Regions from separate parts of the Homo sapiens genome. Here region 2 is linked to region 1. The links are contacts of gene promoters, found by promoter capture Hi-C in human tissues and cell types (Jung and others, 2019). All regions are on one chromosome and are shown on one strand. Each heading gives the region's core, a stretch centred on a gene start or on the middle of the fragment in contact. The rest is flanking DNA. Distances are from core to core; before and after follow the strand shown. Region 1 holds the start of PHF13 (PHD finger protein 13). Region 2 overlaps DNAJC11 (DnaJ heat shock protein family (Hsp40) member C11).

What was found. The method cuts DNA at HindIII sites, captures the fragments that hold promoters and counts their contacts. A contact is called where the count stands out against the background at its distance.
Region 2: a contact is called between a fragment that was not itself captured here and the fragment with the promoter of PHF13 in region 1, in 2 of the 25 tissues and cell types used here (heart right ventricle and ovary).

What each region holds. Positions count from the first base shown.
Region 1 is chr1:6,612,116-6,617,882 of GRCh38, forward strand. PHF13 (PHD finger protein 13) reads left to right here and starts at 1,616. Exons shown (of 4, transcript NM_153812.3): 1 at 1,616-1,990; 2 at 4,642-4,743. The coding sequence starts at 1,952. It overlaps LOC107984913 (a long non-coding RNA gene), which reads right to left and starts at 1,272. Exons shown (of 2, transcript XR_001737882.3): 1 at 577-1,272. RefSeq lists silencers at 1,065-1,114, 1,165-1,944, 2,115-2,204, 2,345-2,804. The HindIII fragment of the contact is 11,446 bases long and covers 1-5,767 here.
Region 2 is chr1:6,675,525-6,680,613 of GRCh38, forward strand. It overlaps DNAJC11 (DnaJ heat shock protein family (Hsp40) member C11), which reads right to left. Exons shown (of 16, transcript NM_018198.4): 3 at 2,870-2,943. Among named protein-coding and RNA genes, the nearest start is that of DNAJC11, 24 kb to the right of the region's middle. The HindIII fragment of the contact is 5,628 bases long and covers 104-5,089 here.

The DNA.
Region 1 (5,767 bases), core at 366-2,865:
AAATTTAACAGCTTAGGAAACTGAGGCTCAGAGAAGTATTTTTTTTTTTTTTTTTGAGACAGAGTCTCGCTCTGTCGCCCAGGCTGGAGTGCAGTGGCACGATCTCGGCTCACTGCAAGCTCCGCCTCCCGGGTTCAAGCAATTCTCCCGCCTCAGCCTCCCGAGTAGCTGGGATTACAGGTGTCCGCCACCACGCCCATCTAATTTTTGTATTTTTAGTAAAGACGGGGTTTCACCATGTTGGTCAGGCTGGTTTCGAACTCCTGACCTCGTGATCCACCCGCCTCGGCCTCCCAAAGTGCTGGGAATACAGGCGCGAGCCACCGCGCCCGGCCGCTCAGAGAAGTATTTCTAAGATTAACACCATCTCCTAACTATTAAATATCTTCATCAGAATGATCATAACCCTTGAAATAGCAACAGCCAGCTTGATGGAGCATTCGGCGCCTGTCAAATATCTTACTAGTATCTCCAAGAGTTCGTTTTCTAATTTGAATTTTCAATTTTGTGTCACTCCCCTTTAACTTCTTCGAAGCTACCAAACAGGTTACTGAATCATCTGCGTTTTGTACTTACCTTTTTCCCCCACTTTCGAATATTAAAAATGTTCCCGTCAGACCGCCTTTTGGTCACCGCATAGGGGCAGTCCCCACCGTGTCCGGCCAGCCTTCCACACGTACAGCTGTCGGATACTCTGCGGTCCAGCGTTTACACACTGCCCATCCCAGTTAAACACCACTAAACAAGTACCAGTCGATGCCAGCGCCAAACACCGCGTCTCCGCCTCGCCCTGCGGGCCGGAGGATATTCAGGAGAGTGGGAAAACGGCCGGTCCCAAGGTTAGGCTTAGGCGGCAACAGAAAGCAAACTGAACGCACACCTCTTTAGAACACTGACAACGCTGGCCCGGTGTTTTTAATGCACGAACCCGGCCACCTCGAGTGAATCCCGCAGATGCCTAGAGAAGAGCCCGGTCCAGTCCCGGCCCCGCGGGCCCGGAGCAGGGAGCCGCACGAAGCCCGCAGCCGCGAAAACAACTTCGCTGAGCCCGGCCTGGAGCGGGGGCCGGGCGGCGACTCCGCCCTCAGCGGGGAGCGGGGAGCGGGGAGCGATGCCCGGGGCGGCCGCGACGTCAGCGTCCCCGCCCCTGCCGCCCCTACTCCCGGCCAGGCCTCGGGGACCCCCGCCCCACAAAGGGGCGCGAACCCCAAGTAGGAGACGAGGAAGGGTAGGTGCCAGCCGCCGCCGCCCTTCGCAACCCGGGCCGTCAGCCCCGCCCCCACCGCCGCAGCGACTCCCGCCCCCGCGCCCGCCGAGACCAAGGCGCTACCGCTCACACTGCCCCTCCCCCCGCGGCCGAGCCGGCGCGGGCCCCCGCACCTCCCCCGCTCGCGCGGCCTCGAGTCCAGAAGACCCGCCTCCACACACCGGGGCCGCCGCCGCGGAGCCTCATGGGGGTTGGAGTCCCCAAGGTTTCCTTTGTGCGCAGTATTGGCGGGGCCTTGGACTACCACTCCCACAAGGCACCGCGCCCGCCTCCCGCGCCACGCCCCCTCGCCGCTGGCTTCCAGTCGCCACCCAGACTACATTTCCCGACAGGCCTCCCGGCTCTCCCGCCCTCCCTCCCGAGACACGAGCCGAACTGGGCGTCAGGTCGGGGAGCCGGTCGGGTTCCCGCTCACCGCCGCCGCCGCCGCCCCCTGCAGCCACTCTCCCGCCTCTACCGCCGCGGGAGCTGCATCGTCCACTCCGGTCGGCGGTGGAACCGCCAGTCCGGGGTCACAGAGCTTGAGAAGCGACGCGCTGAGCCCCCCATCACCTCCAGCCCGGGCGACCCCTCCCGGGTCCGCCCTCGCCCTGCGCAGCCGCCCGAGCCCCCAGCCCCGGGCGGCCCCGCTCCAGCATCCCAGCTCCTGCACTCTCGCAGCCGCCGCCGCCCCCCGCCCGGAACATGGACTCTGACTCTTGCGCCGCCGCCTTCCACCCGGAGGTGAGTGAAGCTGTGCGTCCGAATCGCCCCCGACCACCCCCTCCGCGATCCTGCCGTCCTCAGGCAGCCAGACCCCCGGTCGCCCGGAGCGCCGCCCTCCCCTTCCCCCGCTTTCCCCTCGTCGGCCCCCCCGGGAGCCCAACCCCCGCCCCCTGCTCGGGCCCGCGCTCGGTCCTCTCCGCCGGGCCTCGCCTCCGCGTCCCCTCCGCGGACCTCCGCGTCCTCCCCGCGCCCTTTCCCCAGGGCCGTTGCGCCTATTTCTCTCCCCCGGGCCGCCCCTCTCCGGCCTCGCGTCGACCTGGGACCTGTCGGCGCCCCCAGCCCCTCCCCGCCGGCCTGCTTACTCTTTCCCCGCCCCCGGGGACGCGGTCCGAGCCGCCGCCCGCCCCTGGCTCCGGTTGCTCTCGAGGAGTTTTAGGCCCCCCTCGGACCGGGGTCGGCTCCCGAGGCCCCCGGCTGCTCCCCCGATCCCCCGGGCCCGGTGGCCCGCGCCCCGCCCCCTGACTCCGCGCGGGGCCCAGTCGGCCCCCGCCCCCTACGGCTCTCGGGGGCCGCGTCCTCCGGGGGCCCCACCCGCTCTGGGGACCCGAGTCCTGCCCCCACCCACCGCCCCCCGGCGCGCTGGCCTCTCTCTTCGGGCCCCCGCCCCCCGCCCGCGGGCTTTGCTGGCTCCGCCCCGGCTCACTCCCCCTCCTTCCGGGGATCGGCCCTCGGGGCTCCCGGCCTCCCCCCCGCGCGGTCCCCTCCCCCCAGCCGAGGCTCGTTGGGGTCGGGGGTGCGGGTCCGGCGACCGCGGGCGGGTGGGGGAGGGGAGGCGGCGCCGGAGCCCGCCGGTCTCGCTGCCGCCCCCGGGGGTTCGCAGGGCCTCCCCAGGCCTGGGACCCCGGAATCCTGCCTGGCGCACCCCCCTCACACATACTCGCGGGATGGGCCCCGCACCTTCGGGGGCCGAGTGTCGCGGGGGGCGGCTGCCGCGGGAGGGCGGGTGGGGGCCGCTCCGCCATCTGCTTTCCGAGGAGGCGGCCGGGGGGGCGGGCGGCGTGGGCCGTGTGGGGGCGGCGTGGAACCCCCAGTCCCCGCGCCGGTGCCTCCCGCGCGCCCCCGGCCCGAGGCCGTCGCCGCCCTCCACTTGGCATTCGGGTTTTTGACCCACTTCTGCTGGTTCCCCGCCGAAAGAAAAGTTCTTCGCGGGAGTTGGAGGCCCGGGTGGCGGCCCGCGGTTCCCGTGGCTGGGCAGGCTCGCCAGTGCGGGGAGCGCGGTCAACGCGGGCCTTCGCCTCCGCTCCGTGGGCGGCCCTGGGGTCCAAGGGGGTGGGAGAGGAGAAGGTTTGCTTGAACCAGGTTGAGAAAATAATTTTCTAAGGGCACCGACTTTCTCGAAAGAAAACCCGCGGGCCGCACGCCTGCTCCTCGCGGCGGGAGGGGCGGCCCGAGACCCCTGCCCCCCATTTCCCCACCGGCTCTCCCCCAGCAGAGTGGCGGCCGGGTAACAGCACCTCGGGAAGGATGGGGGTGGGTCGGACAAGGCACTGAAAGGAACCTCAGGGAACGTGCCGGGCGAATAAACAGCAATACGGCACACTTGTTTTGCTTAGGAGCAAATAAGAGCTCCATCTCTCCGTGCTTCTCTCAGGAGAAAATATCTTTTTGTGATGGGTGTTTCTAGATGGAATGGGGCTGGGACCCGCGAGCAAAAACCTCCACTATTCCGTTTAAATGTAAGACTAAGCTTCGCAGTAAGGTTCTTGGTTTATTGTGAGTTGAGATAGTTGGGTGCCTGGCATCCCGACTGGCTGGGACAGTGGAGGGGACCCTCTGAGCACGAGAGAGGGGTCCTCAGGTGGCGCTAGCTTGGCAGGGTCAGCCAGGAGTGAACTCCAGGGTCCAGGTCTCCGAGAGCTCTGGAGAATGAGTGGTTGATTTTTTTTTTTTTTTTTTTTTGAGTTGGAATCTTAGCTCTGTCTACCGGGCTGGAGTGCAGTGGCGCGATCTTGGCTCACTGTAACCTCCGCCTCCGGGTTCACGCGATTCTCCTGCCTCAGCCTCCTGAGTAGTTGGGACTACAGGTGCACGCCACCACGCCCGGCTAATTTTTGTATTTTTAGTAGAGACGGGGTTTCACCATGTTGGTCAGGCTGGTCTCGAACTCCTGACCTCGTGATCCGCCCGCCTCGGCCTCCCAAAGTGCTGGGATTACAGACGAGAGCCACCGCGCCCGGCGAGTGGTTGATTTTTGAAATCACTTAACATACATCAGTTCCAGCTGCTGCTGCAGCAGTTCATACTCAGAATGGAAAATCTGTAGCAAAAAAGTAGTTATTAGAGCTTCGCCTGATAGGCCTGTGGAAACTAATAGATAAAGTCAGAAAATGCCACATGAGCACTAAGAAATAGACTTTTGTAGAAGTTTTTATCTCCCAGCTGATTTCCCAGCATTCTTGGCATAAAGTCTTAATACTCCTCTTTCTGCTCTCTGAAAATAGTGTTATTTCTTGACCTGAACTTACCGTATCTTGTTTGTGGACTGTGTAAATCTAACGGTATTTTTTGAGTGATTGACTACAAAAGTTCCAGCTTACTTCCTTTTGTTTCTGTGATTCCGCCTGGAAGCCTCTCCTTCAAACACATTCCCTTTTCTCTCCCCTTAATAGGAATACTCCCCCAGTTGCAAGAGGCGCAGGACCGTGGAAGACTTCAACAAATTCTGCACCTTTGTCTTGGCCTATGCTGGCTACATCCCTTATCCGAAGGAGGTAATCTTCTGAGTTTCTGAGACCTTTCTTGATGAGTAGTCAAACCCAGTGCCTCCACCGCAAGTTCGTGGGCTTCTGACTGGTCAGAGGGTCAGTAGGTTTGGAAGGGGCTGCTTGTGGTGACCCCAGTCACTAGTCTGGCAGAAATCTGTTTCTTGAGAGTTTGAATTAGCTGGGGAAATGGTTCTAAAACTCTGGTAAAAACTCTGGTAGAAAATGCAGGCTTGTCTAGAAAATGATTTAGTAAACTTTCTTTTTTTTTGGAATGGAAACTTGCTCTGTCGCCCAGGCTGGAGTGCAGTGTCGTAAAACTCCACCCCCGGGTTCAAGGGATTCTCCTGCCTCAACCTCCTCAGTAGTTGGGATGACAGGCGTGCGCCACCACGCTAATTCTTTTTTGTATTTTTGGTAGAGACAGGGTTTTACCTTGTTGGCCAGACTGGTCTCGAACTCCTGACCTCAGGTGATTCACCTGCCTCGGCCTCCCAGAGTGCTGGGATTACAGGCGTGAGCTACCGCCCAGCCGATTTAGTAAACTTTCAGTTTATTTACAAATAAAATATGTGATATTTGCTTGCTCTTTTTGTTTGTTTGTTTGAAATGGAGTCTGGCTCTGTCGCCCAGGCTGGAGTGCCGTGGTGCAATTGTGGCTCACTGCAACCTCTGCCTCCTGGGTTCAAGCGATTCTCCTGTCTCAGCCTCATGAGTAGCTGGGCGCGCCACCACACCCAGCTAGTTTTTTGTATTTTTACTAGAGACGGGGTTTCACCGTGTTGTCGAGGCTGGTCTCGAACTCCTGACCTCATGATCCACCCGCCTCGGCCTCCCAAAAGTGCTGGGATTACAAGCGTTGAGCCACTGCACCTGGCTGTCTGCTTGCTTTTAATAAGGGTCTGTAGTTACTGACTGTTGACCATAGCTGGACACTATTCTTGGCCTATGTAATGCTATGAGGTAGGTGCTATTTTTTATCTCCAGTTTATAAGCTGAGGAAACTAAGGCATAGAGAGGGAAAACTTTGTCT
Region 2 (5,089 bases), core at 1,668-4,167, 65 kb after region 1:
TCCCACCTCAGCCTCCCAAGAAGTAGGATTACAGGCACTCACCACCATGCCTGGTTAATTTTTTCATTTTTTATCGCTTGTAGAGATGCGATCTCACTGTGTTGCTCCAGCTGGTCTCGAACTCCTGAGCTCAAGTGATTCTCCTGTGTCAGCCTTTGAAACTGCTGGAATTACAGGTGTGAGCCACTGCACCCAGCCCTATATATTTGTATAACCACCATTTTGCGTGTGGATTTGCTTTGTTTCTAATGGGAAGATAATCTGGTCTGATGAGAGGAAGCCATACAATATTCTACCAGCAGACCCCAGTGCTCCACTGATTGGGATAATGCTGCTGGGGACTAAAAACCTAGTCTTTGAAGAGGGAATATGTAATGGGGTCCTACAGCTTTTCAGTGACTCCAATTGCTGACTTGAAAAATTGTAGCCAACCCACATCTTAAAAAAACAAAGAAGCTTTAAGGAGTGTATAAAGAGTGACGGGGAAATTGAATAAATACAACAGAATTCTACTTTCCTTTTTGGATGAGAAAATGCTAAGTTATTTGGCTTAATACCTAGCTGCAATGAACCAATGTGACAGGAAGCACTGCTATTCCCATCAAGCCAGAGGCCAAATACCAACTGCCCACTGGAGCCAGGAGGACATGCAGATGAGAAGAGCCAGACATAACGCAAGGGGGAGTGGTGGGGACTGGGACAAATTGGACAGCCCAGCCCCATCTGAAGGGCAAGGGCTCCTCAGATCCACTGTTACCAGATCTTCAGATGTTTCAAGAAAAGACAGAAGACTGAATTATCATGCAGAACCTCCCAGGGTTGAAATGTTAGCAACTAGAATTCACTGTGTGAGGCAATCAAAAAATGGCAACAGGCTGGGTGCGGTGGCTCACACCTGTAATCCCGGCGCTTTGGGAGGCTGAGGGGGGAGGGTAGCTTCAGGCTAGGAGTTTGAGACCAGCCTGGGCAACATAGAAAGACCCCATCTCTACAAAAAATTTAAAAATTAGCTAGGCATGGTGGTGTGTGCCTGTAGTCGCAGCTACTTGGGAGGCTGAGGTAGGAGACTCACTTGAGCCTGGGAGGTCGAGGGTGCAGTGAGCCATGATGGCACCAACACACTGCAGCCTGGGCGACAGAGCACGCGCGCACTCTCTCTCACAAACACACACACACACCAAAAAAGGCTATTAGTGGAATATGGCCCATGAGCCACCAATATGAAGCAGTAGTGGAAAGGCAGGAAAGGAAATAGGATCCTCTTTTGCTTTTCTTCCACTCCTCATCTGAAGGCCTTTACAAGGCTTTGATGCCAGAACTGGAAGAGACAGGCACGCATGCTTGAGACTAAACATTGAATGAACTTTGGCCAGGTGTGGTGGCTCATGCCTGTAATCCCAGCACTTTGGGAGGCCGAGGTGGGTGGATCGTCTGAGGTCAGGAGTTCGAGACCAGCCTGACCAACATGGAGAAACCCTGTCTCTACTACAAATACAAAATTAGCTGGGTGTAGTGGCGCATGCCTTGTAATCCCAGCTACTCAGGAAGGCTGAGGCAGGAGAATCACTTGTTGCAGTGAGCCAAGATTGCGCCACTGCACTCCAGCCTGGGCAACAAGAGCAAAACTTGGTCTCAAAAAAAAAAAAAAAACAAAAAAAACGAAGGAACTTCAAGGGTAATCTTACATGATGGTGAAAATATAACTCAACGAGGGTCAATTCAATGTTATTAAACAGACTAGCAAAATTTATTGGGCATCAGAACCAAGTTTCTTTCTTTTTTTTGTGAGACAGGGTCTTGCTCTGTTGCCCACGTTAGAGTGTAGTGGCGTGATCATAGCTCACTGCAGCCTCAACCTCCTGTGCTCAAGTGATTCTCCCATCTCAGCCTCCTGAATAGCTGGGAATACAGGTGTGCGCCACCAAGCCCGACTAATTTTTAAAAAAATGTTTTGTAGAGACAGGGTCTTGCTATGTTTCTCAGGCTGGTCTCGAACTCCTGGCCTCATGTGATCCTCCCAGCCTGGCTCCCCAGAGTGTTAGGATTACAGGTGTGAGCCACTTTGCCTGGGTCAGAACAAAGTTTCTTTAATGATACCTATATATCCCTGTAGCAACTTAAGGGTTTCACAACTAATCTTCATATTCATTTTTCAGATAGTAACATGGAAGCACTAGTAGCCCAATGACTTGCCCAAGACTCTACTGCTAGTCAGTGGCAGTGTGAAAGCAAACAAATTGTCTGGATTTTAGTGACTGCTCTCCCACAGCATGGCTGCCCAGGGCGACACATTTGCTATATATTTTGTTTCACTCATCACATTTGACAAAGCTTGAATATTATAATACATGAGAATTGAAAGGGTCATTACAGGCAATGCAACCCCAGCAACTCTGCTTCCATTTTGCTCACGTGCATAACATACTCCCATCTGAAATATTTCCTCACAGCAATTATTCAGAACTGAGGTGGAGAGAGAGGCACAGAACTGTGGAGGGTGGAAGGGAGTGTATATGGAGACAGAACTGCACCCTTGAAGAAATCGTCTCCCATCAACCCCCTGCTCCGCTTGCTCCCGCCCCACACCTGGGTTAAAAATTACTGGTTCGGTCCATCCCTCTTCCGTTTTACTTGACAGGTTAGGGAACGAAGGACAAGTCAGATGAGTGGCTGGCCCAAGTTCAGAGTTACAAAGTGGCAAAGCCAAGTCCAAAACTCAACCTCTAAAACAAAAATACAGGGCAAGGAAGGGGGCTCTAATGGTTTCAAATATTCCCAAAGACAATATTACAGATTGCAGGGTTTTGGGGAGATGTTCTGTAACTGTTTAATGACTTTTCTGGAACACCAGACGCACAGTTTCTCTTACCTCCCATCCTTCCATTTCCAGTCCTCTCTTCCCATATATATCATAGATGGCCCTGGTTTGGGGGTCACTAAGCACTGCAAATTAAAAATTAAACATGTTTATAAAATACAAAATTCACCTTCAGTCCTTCCTGAGAATACTGACATCATTAGGTAAGCCCATCTCCTGTTCTCCCTGTCTGATCACAATCTTCCTAGAGACCCCTTTCATTTTCTACACATCTTTCCTCCCAACTGCTTTTTCGATTCAACCTAGGATTTGTTTATTGACTTATTGACTGACAGGGTCCTTCTCTGTTGTCCTGGCTGGAGTGCAATGGTAAGATCATAGCTCACTGCAGCCTTGAATTCCTGGGCTTAACTAATCCTCCTGCTCTAGCTTCCCAAGCAGCTGGGATTACAGGTGTGTGCCACCATGCCCAGCTAATTTATTTTTTGTAGAGATGGGGTCTCACTATGTTGCCTAGGCTGATCTCGAATTCCTGGCCTTAAATGATTCTCTTGCCTTGGCCTTGCAAAGTGTTGGGATTACAGGTGTGAGCCACTGCACCCAGCTAATGTAGGATATGTTTAAAGGCGGCTACAAATGAGAAAAGTCAGATTTTCCAGTGTCCAAGTTACTCTTGATTGGAAGGTACAGCTACAAGGTGTACAAGGTGCACCATGCAGGAAGTGGCACGGGCTCCTGCATTGGGAAAGGACATGAACGTTGTTTTTAAGATAATTTGGTAAATTTCTGCCACGGTGTATAAAAGTACACTGACTTGAAAGAGTGGGTTCCAGTTTCTAAAGAAGCTTGCTATAAAAGTAGAAACAGGCTCAGATACTAGAAAAAGCTGATTTGTTATTTACTCTATAGAGTTCTGTTAACTCCAAAGACAGGCTACATTTCTTTTGTGCACTTCTCCTCTCTATTTGTAAATAATTTTAAAAGACAAAAACATCTCTTATCATGTTGTTGGCCACATCACCCAAAATACATCAGAAAAGGATTTCTCAGCTAACGGTGAGGGCTGTTCAAACGATATCCCAACTGAACGATATCCCAACTGAACTCAAATGTCAGCAAGGCCAATGGTTGTTCTCTTCCCCCTCTGCTTCACCAATTTCTGCCAAGACCTTTGGGTCTCTTCTCCCCTGACAGTTCCCATATATTTGTAGGCCTAATTTAAAAACCACATAAATGATACTATGCATAATCAAATCTAACGGGAAAGGAAGAAATGCTGGCCCCTGGAAAACACAGGAGCCAAACTTGTGTTCCTCTCCAGCATTTAATAAGGAATTATTCATTCACTATTTTACCTGAGTCTCCCTTTAAGCTAAACATGAGGCCAGGTCTGCTGTTGTGGCACTTTCACTAGCACTGGTAGGGTTTTTCTTTAACTCTTCCCCAGGTCTCCAACACAATACAAGCAAACTATGTGGCTAATTTAGACAACAGTAAAATTAATGCACCCATTTAGATAACAGAATACAATAAAAAGAACAGGCTACTCTTCACAACCGCCATGCAAATGATCTGAATACAGTTAAATTTGGTAATGACACTACACCGACTGTACACATTTATCACACACTGCAGCCTGATTTTCACTGGCCATTAAAATCTAACTTTTTGGTAAAACTATAAAGTGAAAAACACTACAAGCTATTATGTATACAGTGAGATGACTTTATGATTTTATAAAGAAACATATTATCTAATTTTTGGTCTAAGGAGCAAATCACCAGATGGTTCTGGAACAAATAACTTATTGTAGTTGATGTATATAACAGTGATTTAACATTTTTTTTAATTTAAATTTTAAAAATGGTGGTAAAATATACATATAATATTTACCATTTTAACCATTTTAAAGTATACAATTCAATAGCATGAAGTACATTTACAATGTTGTGTAACCATCATCACTCTCTATTTCCAGAACTTTTTGCCATCCCAGACAGAAGCTCTGTATCTGGTAGTGACTTTAATATTTTATAAACAAATATATCACAGAATGTTCTTTCTGACATACATAAGACATAAGTATAAAAATGTGAATCACTTGGTTCTATTTCCTATAAGCCTTCTTAACATCATTTTCTTTCTTTTATTACAACCGATAACTGCTTCAGAACCAATAAAATCACTTTTGGATGAAAAAATGTCCTTGTATCTTCTAACAAAAAAGAGAACAAAGAAACCTTCCCTGTAACGATCAGCCTTTTACCTATA